Linked DNA regions of Homo sapiens: all the other regions are linked to region 3. The links are contacts of gene promoters, found by promoter capture Hi-C in blood cells and fetal thymus (Javierre and others, 2016). All regions are on one chromosome and are shown on one strand. Each heading gives the region's core, a stretch centred on a gene start or on the middle of the fragment in contact. The rest is flanking DNA. Distances are from core to core; before and after follow the strand shown.

Region 1 (3,660 bases), core at 156-2,655, 490 kb after region 3:
CAGGAGAATCACTTGAACTCGGGAGGCGGAGGTTGCAGTGAGCGGAGATCACACTCCAGCCTGGGCAAGAAAAGCGAAACTCCGTCTCAAAAAAAAAAAAAAAAGTGATACGGAGCCTGACCTATTTAGTTTCAATTTTTGTTGTTGTGGTTGCCATTATTCTCATCAACTCCTCCCTGTTACACTCTCCATTTGGGAAGATAACCTGCAACGTTATTAGTAGACAAAAAGTGAGGAATAAAGATTTCTGTAATTCCTTTGATGCTCCTGGGAAGGAACTGAACACAGGGATCCCTGGACAAGGGAAATGGAACTTATAGCTAAGATGCTGTGGATAAAGCTGGCTTTACAAATAATCAGAATAGATGACTCCAATGTCATGTTCTTTGAGGGGTCCTGGAAAGGACCACCCAGCCCTCTAAATTGCTTTCACTGCCATCCTGCCTGAAATTCCATCTTTAGAAACACTGTAATTCCTCTGGATCACTAAGAGCTCCTGAGTGGGTACCAGGACTCCTGAGAGGTCCACCATCTCTCTTTATTGGAACCCCCTCCCCAGAGTACCAGTTCCTCCACAGGGGAACGAGACTGAGCCACTTACAGCTCCTGCCTTGAAGACTGGGAAGGGAGGGTGGGGGTGAGGGTGGGAGAACTCAGGGTTCCTGGCGAGGAACAAAAGCCGGGAAGGAGAGTTCTCCAAAACGCAGAGGAAAGCGGAGGGGGAAAAATGGGGCAGAAAGTGGAGCTAGAAAGAGAGGTAAGAAGAAAGCCAGAGAGACTTCTTCCTTCTGCAAATCGGTCTAAGTTTCGGGAGGTGGGATTGGGGGAGGAGGGGGTTCACCCTGGGGCCAGGCCAGGGCTGGGTGGAGGAGGCGGCCTTCGAGAGAGTGAGTCGGGAAAGAAGGGGAGTGGGCAAAGGGTGAGATGTGGGGTCCCGGTCCCCGCCTCGCTGGCTGCCAGTTCCCTCTGCGTTTCCTAGTCCGCGTGCGTGACACGAGATAGTGCAGCCCTGGCATGGGGCTTGGCATCTGGCGGCCGCGAGATAACCAGGGCCCGTGCGATGGGAAACGTGCCGTTGGCAGCCCGCCACCCCTCCATCGTGACCTCAGTCTGCCAAACAGGGTTCGTGATGCTCAGTTTACTAGGGAGGAGCCGCGGCTTTGAGATCTCGCCCAGCCCGAAGCAGCGGAGACTGGCCAGGAGCCCGGCTGTCAGACCTCGGAGCGCACGCTGCGGGCGGGGGCTCGGTCCACGGGGGAGGGTCAGGGGACGCGGGACTCACCCTTGAAGGAGTCGGGGAGCCGCTGGGCTTCGGAGTCCCGTGTGTGCCGCTTCTCGGCCATGCTGCCCGAGACGCAGTCGCACTCCCCCGTCCTCGTTGCCAAACCCGGAGCCGCCGGGAATGCCCTGAGGAGCCAGAGGCACAAGACCCAGATTGCCGCCCCGCCCCCAATCGAGGTCCCGCCCTCGTGAGAGTTGGCCAATCAACGCCCAGGATCGAGGAGGACCCACCTCCCAATCCCCGCCCTCCTGTCCCTCCACGGCGCGACTGCTTCGCAGTCACTTCCCGCTAGTTCTGTGGGCTGAGGGGCGTGGCCTGAGGGGCGTGGCCTGAGGGGCGAGAGCCCCCAAGGCTGTGGGTATGAGGCCGGGGCCCTGCACCGGAAGGGAGGGCGGAAGCCACGGGACGTGGAGCAGATGGTGAGGATAGTGGGGAGGTAGCAGCAGAGGATGACCCGAGGCAAAAGTGCAAGTGAAGAAAAGTCGCCTTGCCGGGCAGAGGTACGGGACCAAGGCGCCTCCTCTGGGCTGAGGAGTTAGAGGGAAGAAAATGGCGCCCTGTCATGAGGGCGCGAGGTCCGAGTTGAGGGGAGAAGACTGAGGGACACAGAAGTGGCCGAAGTGAGGGCGCTGAGGTCAGCCTGAGCTGAGAGGGCCGGCAGATCACGCCGCAGCCGAAGTGAACGAACTCGAGTGAGGTGTGTTAAGAAAATCAAAATGTATAAATTTGGAAAAGGAGAGGAGGCCGGGCGCGGTGGCTCACGCCTGTAATCCCAGCACGTTGGAAGGCCGAGGCGGGTAGATCATCTGAGGTTAGAAGTTCGAGACCAGCTTGGCCAACATGGTGAAACCCCGTCTCTGCTAAAAATACAAAAATTAGCCGGGCGTGTGGCGCGCGCCTGTAATCCCAGCTACTTGGGAGGCTGAGGCAGGAGAATCGCTTGAACTTGGGAGGCAGAGGTTGCAGTGAGCCGAGATGGCCTGGGTGACAGAGCGAGACTCCGTCTCAAAAAAACAAAACAAAAAACAAAAAAACAGGAGAGGAGACTTTATTTCTTGTAAGGGGTTACAGCCTGCAAGGTGGCCATTCCGCAGGCTGGAGAATGGCCAGGACCAGAGACAGGCATTTCGTTGGAGGAGGGGTTGGAGTAGCGGCTTTATGCTGAACAGCTTGGGTAGACATGCATATTCAGCAGGTGACAGGAGGAGCTATGAATATTCATGAGGGTGGTCCTGACGCATGCCCATTGAGCAAACATGCATGTAACATACAACCCATGTTCATTTTGGAGTGAAGAGTTACCAATTAAATGTTAAATGCCTGGCCTGCATGGTGACGTCCCCATCTCTACAAAAAGTAAAAAAAAAATAGCCAGGTGGGGTGGTGTGTGCTTGCGGTCCCAACTAGTCAGGAGGCTGGGGCAGGAGGATCACTTGAGCCCAAGAGTTGGAGGCTGCAGTGATGTATGATCAGATCACTGCACTCCAGCCTGATGGACTCTAAAAAATAATAACAATACATGTATTACAGTTAGACCCCATGCGTCAAAAGGTCTTTTCAGGACAGGAAGGTGTGCAAGTATGCAGTCTGTGTAAACTAGCCAGAGCCAGTCCATGGTCGGTAGTTTTCCTATGAGGAGAAAGTTACTGAAATCAGCCTCTTGTCCAATTAAAGCTGTAATGATGGCTGGTGGAATAGGGGTTCCATTAGGCCACATCTGGTGGAGCTGCAAATTGTTTTAATATTGCTTATCTCGAGGCCAGTGCTTGTTAAGCTGCTAGAGAAAGAGAACAACCTTGTGGCAGTTAGAACACAGTTTATTCTCTAAGTGAAGGGATGTGTGCCTTAACCTTTGCCTGGCATGACCTTAGGTATAATTTGTTTATAATTTGGTATCTTATTGTCACAAACAGTCTGTTCTGTCAGTCTTATGATCTGTGTTTTAACGTTAATGCTGGTCAGCTGTTGTGTCTAAACTCCAATACGATGAAGTTATAATGAGGCGAGTCTGACCTTCTGTCCTGTCATTGGCTGGGAACTCAGTTTTAAAGTTTTCTGGAGTCCCCTTGGCCACAAGGGAGTCCATTCAGTCGGTGGGGTCATTTATTCAAACAAAATCTTCTTGGAGCATCTTCCATGTGGCAGGGAGTGTGCTAAGGGCCTCGTGGAGTTTACCTTATACTCTAGTTGGGAGATGGGCCACAAACAAGTAATTGAATCATTACACATGGTGAAGGAAGCTGTGAAAGGAGTGGAATATTCGGAGAACAGCAAAGGTTAGGACAGGGGAACACCTCTGTAAGGAAGGGGCTTTGAGATGTCGCCTGAGAAATGAGAAGGAGCCAGCCTGGGGAAGGGGAATAAGCGGTGCAGGAGGT
Region 2 (3,336 bases), core at 338-2,837, 320 kb after region 3:
AATTCACTCATTTGGCCAATGTTATAAAGTTTGTAAATGGTAGACCTAGAACTTGAACCCAGGCCTGATTCCAAAGACCATGATTTTCTCTAAGGTATTATTAGCTTATTTCAGGTATGTACAGGTAGACTGATAAAATAAAAATCAGAGAAAGAGGAAGGATATTAGTGCATGTAAAATTTAGCTATAAACTACCCTTGCTGCCAAGAGAAATATTTACTAAATGCATAGTAAACACTAACAACTGTGCCATGTATTCAACTGACTCCTTAAAAATATTAATATGCTTAATATTGCTTTAATAAAGGATTTCTCAACCTCATCTCCTGAACATGAAACATACCAGTTTTCACCACTGGGGAAACATACCATTTCACCACTGTGAAAATATACCATTTTTCACCACCATTTTCACCACTGTTAAGGTGAAAAATGTATTTTAAAATGGGGTACGCCATCTTGTAAAATTCTGCATATTTCTTTTACTCAACAAAATGATAGACACATTTTCATGTCAGTACATTTAGATCTAAGTGGTTACTGAACAAATATTAAACACTAATTATTGTTGTGACAAAAATAGAATGCATGGTTTCTATTTACTGAATCAGACACCTTTCTAAGATTACACAGACATATAAACGACTAGTTTTGAAACATGTAGGTACAGATGTGAAGGTATACACTTTCATACATACTGCTTGTGGAAATGTGCCAACATTTTGGAAAGTAATCAGTATGTTTAAAAATCTTAACAATAATCCAAATCATCCTTTGGCCCAGAAAGTATCCTACATATACAAAAGCTTCAGCCCATAAGGCTACAGGTATTAGTGCATTTAATGCACCATTTTTACAGCAAAAAACTGGAAATAATCAGCAAAGAAATGACTGAATAAAGTACATCTATAATACAAAATAATATCCATGTAGTTTAGAAACCATTTTGATTGATATGCATTAACCTGGAAATACATCCATGATTTTGTTAAGTGAAAAAACACATGTTGCAGAGTTTTATGCAACAGCATACCCCACTTTCAAACACACACACACACACACACACACTCAACCCTATATTCATATAATATGGAATACACACCAAATTGTGAAAAATACATGGACAGGAGAAACAGGGAATAGAGAAATTATTAACTTTTCTTTATATATCCCTGCACTGACTTACTATAATGAATTAAAAATAAAATTTTCTCTACCGATAAATATTTCAAAAGCCCTTTTCTATTTTAATACAGGTTAAAGAATACCCAAACAAAAACAAACAAATCTCCCACTCATAATATTCCCAACATTATTTCCGCATTTACTGATAATAAGAGGAATATCTTATGAAGCCAATAATACGATTGGGTTCAAAATAGAAAAACCAACACTCAATAGTAGAGGGCATATTTTTGGGAGTTTTTTAATAGCTTAACTACTTACTGTTTGCTCTGATTTTAAAAACTGTTATACAGCTATTCTACTCCTTAGAACCTATGATGTTACTGTATAATTTTTACATAGCTGATCCAAGACATAACAAGGGAAAAGCAACCCATTAAATATTCCAGGTAATTTAATTCTTATCCTTGTTATTTCCACTGATAAGTTTTTTGTTTGTTTTTTAACATGCACGACGTTTTGTTAAAAATACCAGAGCTGAGATGGACTGCTTCTGTAGTTCCAACATAAACATATCTGTTAAGTATCTACTAAGCACAAAGCATTGTGCCAGGCTTTAGCAAGACAGCAATGATCAAAAAAGACAACACTGTCTCTGCCTTCGTGGAACTCAACAACAGAAGCATGCTGACTTGCTTTAGAGGCCCACTAAAATGGACCACTACTACCTGATTTGTCAGTCAGGCGGATAAAACTTCTGTAGTTAATCTAATAATCTAATCTAATAAAAATGAGTGGTCAATTTCCTCAACAGTAGTACAAGTAGCCCACCCACTTAAAAAAAAAACCTTACTTTTGACAATATACTTAATGTCACTTTTATATAAATAATGTGAATCATTTTTAAAAGCTGGATTGCTTAATGTGGCAAAAGTAACTTTGATGGTCTTCTATATACAGGAAATAAAGTATTCTAATACTGGACCTCTGTTTACAGAAAGAAAGCACTTAACAACCAAAAAGCCAAAAAAAACCCCTGCACTTACTGCTCAAGTTAAAAGGATTAATAGTGAAAATTTTACTACCGATATTGTGTCTGAGATTTGCTTCAAAATAATTTGGCAAGGAGGAGGCAAGTGTATATTGATGAAGCAAGACTGATCACTGTTGACACTGGCTGATAGGTATATGAATGCTCAGTATGCTACCTGATTTTGTATATATTTAAAATTGTCTAGAATAAGAAGCTTTTTAAAAGTCAAGTACAGTACCTCTAATACTTCTATTTGTCAAACTGTTGTCTTTAGCCATGCCTGGCATTTTTTACCACATAAAAATGTTTCAAGCCTCTTTTAAAAAACATGAAACATCTCTCAATAGCCCAAGTTTTCACATTTTATTTACCTTAATCAAGTTTCCTCCACTAGCACAATATCTTACTGTGACTATGCAAAGATATTTGATATTGATAAAAATGAACACTCCAAATTCTGTTGCAAAGTTGAAGTATGCAACAATGATAAAGTTTAACTGTAATACAAAAAAAGCAACAACTTTTTAAGATGTAGCTTTAATTTCAAGGGATTTTTTAATAGCTATTATAATCTAAGGTTTTACGTCTTTACAATAACTGCCATTTATTGAGGGCCTAACACATGCCAGCTACTTTATAAACAGTCTCTAATCCTAAAAACTCATTTTTCAGATAAGGAAACCGAAGTGATCTACCCGTGGTCATACTACTACTAAATGGAGAGCTAGAATTAAGGCCCAGGTTTAACTCTACATGTAGCTCTCCAAAGCTATACTCCTCTCTCATTCATTCAAAAGATATTAAACACCCACTATGTGCCTGGCACTGTTACAGGCACTGATTTACTATATGCCAAGCAATGTGCTAAGGGCTTTCTTTAAACCCCATTTAATCCTAGCAACAACTCTAAGATGCAGGTCCAATTATCCCCTTTATAGATAAGGACACTGAGTCCGAAAGGTTAAGTAACTTGCTTAAGATCACTTAACTAGGAAGTGGCAGTACTGGAGGGAGAACCCTTGACAGTATGACTCCAAAACTCTTAACCACGACATACCTCTAGGCATGATCAAATAAAACTGCCTAAACAGAACTTGGAAGAAAAAATTTGGAAAGGCTTGGGGGAATAAAGGGGTAGGAGCTGGATTACTGCAAGGTCAAGTTTGTCTTCAACAATC
Region 3 (3,495 bases), core at 982-3,481:
GAGAAGAGGCTGATGGGCCAAAGGCAGAGCCATGGCCCATACCACACTACCTTTTAAAGAGAATGGATCTCTCAACCCACACAGAACAAAGTCCCCTACCCAGCGGGCCTGAACCACTCCCTGTCTCAGGAGGCTGAGGTTTTATTCCTTAAGCAAACACAGTCCATGTGCTCTGGATGGAGGATCTTCTCCAGGCAAGCAGTTGGGTTTTGTTTTTACCCCCAACCCCTGCAACCATCCCTAACCTGAGATCTGTCCAGAGAAAATTCACCTAGAAAGGAAAACTGGGTGGCTTGTAGCTAGTGTAGACTGGGTCATCTGTCTTTTGTAATCCCCCCTTCTGTTCTCAATTATGAGATGATTTAATGGAAACCAATTCTGGGACATTTAAACCCACTTATGCTTTCACCCAGATACACATTTGCTCCAAGCAGTGAAGTCATCCATCCCCATGCCAGCCTCTCCACGCCTGTCTCTCACCATCCTATTCAACGTGCAGTTCACCCATCGATTTCTCTCTCCCTGCCTGTGGTACTGCCTTCATGCATCTCAAACTCCTCCAAGCAATTAGTTGCCACAGCCGGCCCATTTTAAGTGCCATGATTTCTGGCTTTCCAGCTCTAGCTTCCATCCTCCTGCCCTGGTCTCAGTTCAGGCCTCATCTTTTGCTTGGGCCATTCATTCATTCATTCATTCACCCAATAACAGTTTCCTGGGCCTTGTGCTTACCTCCACTAGGCACCTAGGGTGGGGAACGGTACTACCAGCACCCAGTGCTAAACAGGCCGTTCCTGCATTCCTGCCTCTCCACCAGACTCTTCCGCAGGGCCACCAATTTCCTTCCAGAAACTTTCTGGGGCTCCCCACTGCCCTCACTGGTGCTCAAAGCCGTCCCTAACGCCCCCTCCTTTCTGCTGGGCTCACCTGGCTCCAAGTCCCTCCACATGCTCTCCACTACAGCCACACACAGCCTCTCTCTTTCCCCGCGGGCCTACTCGGGTCTCCTCCTTGTGGCCATGGCGCTGGGCACCTGGTGTTGTGACTATCTGTTCACAGGGAGAGAGTCCAGTGCCTGTTTCTGTGTGGTGCGTGTGTGTACTCCTGTGAGACTGGGCAGGATGATGTCTACGGCATTGTGCCAGGGAGTGTGTGAAGCTAAGTATGTGCGGGGCCCTGGGGCGAGCCAGGCACTGCAGGGGTCTCGGCTCCCCAGATGGTGGCGTGGCCACGACCTTCTCCACCCCCACTCCCATCTCCTTTTTCTCCAGCGCAGAGCGCACAGGCTCCCGGGCAGGGGATGCGGTCTGAATCCCTGTCCTCTCCCTGCCACCTGGCTCGCCCGGCGCTGCGAGGTCCCCGCCCGCCCGGCCAGGGGCCAGGCCGGGGCCGCTGCAGGTTCACAAACTGACACTTCCTCTCCCGCTGCGCCTCTAGGAGCCGGCCGGGTCGCCGCACCCGCCTCCACCCTGGCCGGGCGGGGGCCCCCGGGTGGCGCCCCCCCAGCCCCCGCCTCCGTCCTCCCGGAGCGGGCCCCCGCGGGCTGTGATTGGCTGATTCAAACCCATTTGCAAAGAAATGCCTGTTTGCGGGTTCCCGTCTGCGTCCAGTTCAAATCCGCGGCACCGGGAGCGCGGGGCCGGGCGGGGGCAGGAAGCGAGGATGATTCATGCGCCGGGGCCTCTCCCAGGGCGGCCGTTGGCTTTTTAAAAAGGATGTTCAGGAGGGGGGAAAAAGCTTGCAGAAGCACCCCCTTCGGGTTCAGCGCTCCTCTCCTCAGTCGCTCGGACGCCAAGCCTCCCCCATCCCAACCCTGCCGCAGCCTGACTTCGGACGTGAGCGAAATGCCAAACGCCCGTCTGTCCTTCCCCCACCCCGATAGGAAAATTAAAGATCGGGGGCGAGGAAGAACGACCTGTCACCCATGCCCCCCGGGGCTCGGGAACCCGGGTGGGGCCCCTCTGCCCCGCAGGTAACCTGCACCCCCGGTCCCCACCCCCGAGAGCCCCGCTCCGCAGGAGTCTCACCCCCCGGAGGCGTTCGGGCCGCCAAAGTTCAGGGAGATTTCGAAAAGAGAGGGATGAGGGCCGGGAGGGGAGAGCGTGGCGGGGAGTCCGCCCAACAGCGCAGAACTCACCGCGAGGCTGCGTGTCCGCCGGTCCCACTTGGAGTCTGGCCACCAGGCGCATCGGTGGCGGAGGCGGCTGCGCTCGGCCCGCGGCTGCCCGGCCGAGTGTCCGCCCGTGGGGCCGGGGTCGGGGTCTCGGCGGGGGCGGGGCGGGGCGGGGGCGCCGCGGGGAGGAGGGGGAGGCGGCGGAGGGAGGGGCCGGGGCGCTCAGGAAGGGGCCCCCCGGGCGCGGGGCGCCATCTTTTTCGCGTTTTCCCGCGAATTATTGACGTCCCGCTTATGTAATTAGCGGGGGCCGCGCCGGCCTCGCCATTGGAGCCCGCGGCCGCCGGGCTCCGCAGCGCCGCCAGCCCCCGCCCGCCCCCGCCCGCCCCGCGGGCGCGCATCCTCCGCGGCCACTAGCCAGGACCCGGGCCCCCCGCCGAGGAGCGGCCACACCGCGGCGCACACGGAGACGCCAGGCAGCGCTCATGGCGCACACGACCGCTCGCACACTTGTTGAGGAAACACAGCTCTGCGCGCAGGCACCGGCGGACCCTGGCACAGACACACAGCAGGGCGGCGCGGACCCTTGGCGCAGACACAGACCCAGGACGCCCAAACAGGCCACACAACACCTTGCACTAACAGCACAGGCGTTCGGCACAGAGACACAGCACAAGTATAATGTAGATACACAACACACAGTGCACAACGCATGTTGTTCCGACACAGGTCAGAACACACCACAGCATGTACAGGACACAAACACACCACAAAGAGAAGTACTGTACACACCAGCCATAGGCATAGATACACAAGGGGGAACACACTGTACACAACAGAGACACACAACAGAACATGCATGTAAGGTAGACGGACATAACACATAAAGTCACAACACAGACGGGCAAGAGACACAAGTTTTCCTGAAAAAGTGGCATTCAGATAGGTTGTGGAAATAGGTTAGTGGGTGTGCCAGGTGGAGGGAATTCAGTGGGCTAACAATGCAATTTTTAAAATACGGGTTAAGGATATCAAAAGGCAATTCACAAAAGAGGAAACCTACATGGCCGAAATAGCCCCAAACAACAAATTGCGTAGAGACACAGTGCACAGAAATACATGGTACAATCGCAAATATATACCACACGCACAACATGTCATGTAAATAAAGGGCACACAATGAAAGACAACATGCACAGAGTCATAGGAATGGCAGATGGAGTCAGTGGGCAGAGCTCCAATCATAGGGACCCTGCCCTGTGGGGGAAAGGCAGACATGGCCCCACCCAGACTCACTCTTGGGGGAAGGGAGGAAGAACACTTACCAATAACCCCACCCCCATCCTTGCCCTCAGTCCACAGCGCCCACCTCTGTGGCTACCATC

What was found. Contacts are between HindIII fragments. The CHiCAGO score rates a contact against its expected background, and 5 or more counts as called.
Region 1: a contact is called between the fragment with the promoter of STOM here and the fragment with the promoter of PHF19 in region 3, in 4 of 17 cell types (total B cells, naive B cells, erythroblasts and 1 more). The highest score is 6.5, in total B cells.
Region 2: a contact is called between a fragment that was not itself captured here and the fragment with the promoter of PHF19 in region 3, in 1 of 17 cell types (total CD4 T cells). The highest score is 6.3, in total CD4 T cells.

What each region holds. Positions count from the first base shown.
Region 1 is chr9:121,368,845-121,372,504 of GRCh38, forward strand. STOM (stomatin) reads right to left here and starts at 1,406. Exons shown (of 7, transcript NM_004099.6): 1 at 1,283-1,406. The coding sequence starts at 1,343. It overlaps LOC102723324 (a long non-coding RNA gene), which reads left to right and starts at 1,049. Exons shown (of 7, transcript NR_187160.1): 1 at 1,049-1,122. RefSeq lists enhancers at 1,411-2,371, 1,831-1,920. The HindIII fragment of the contact is 8,041 bases long and covers 1-3,660 here.
Region 2 is chr9:121,196,977-121,200,312 of GRCh38, forward strand. All of the region lies in intron 1 of RAB14 (RAB14, member RAS oncogene family), which reads right to left. Among named protein-coding and RNA genes, the nearest start is that of RAB14, 3.2 kb to the right of the region's middle. The HindIII fragment of the contact is 1,566 bases long and covers 805-2,370 here.
Region 3 is chr9:120,874,957-120,878,451 of GRCh38, forward strand. It overlaps PHF19 (PHD finger protein 19), which reads right to left and starts at 2,232. Exons shown (of 15, transcript NM_015651.3): 1 at 2,135-2,232. RefSeq lists enhancers at 1,069-1,660, 2,672-2,721, 2,982-3,031 and silencers at 1,252-1,701, 1,982-2,031, 2,272-2,551. The HindIII fragment of the contact is 7,264 bases long and covers 1,733-3,495 here.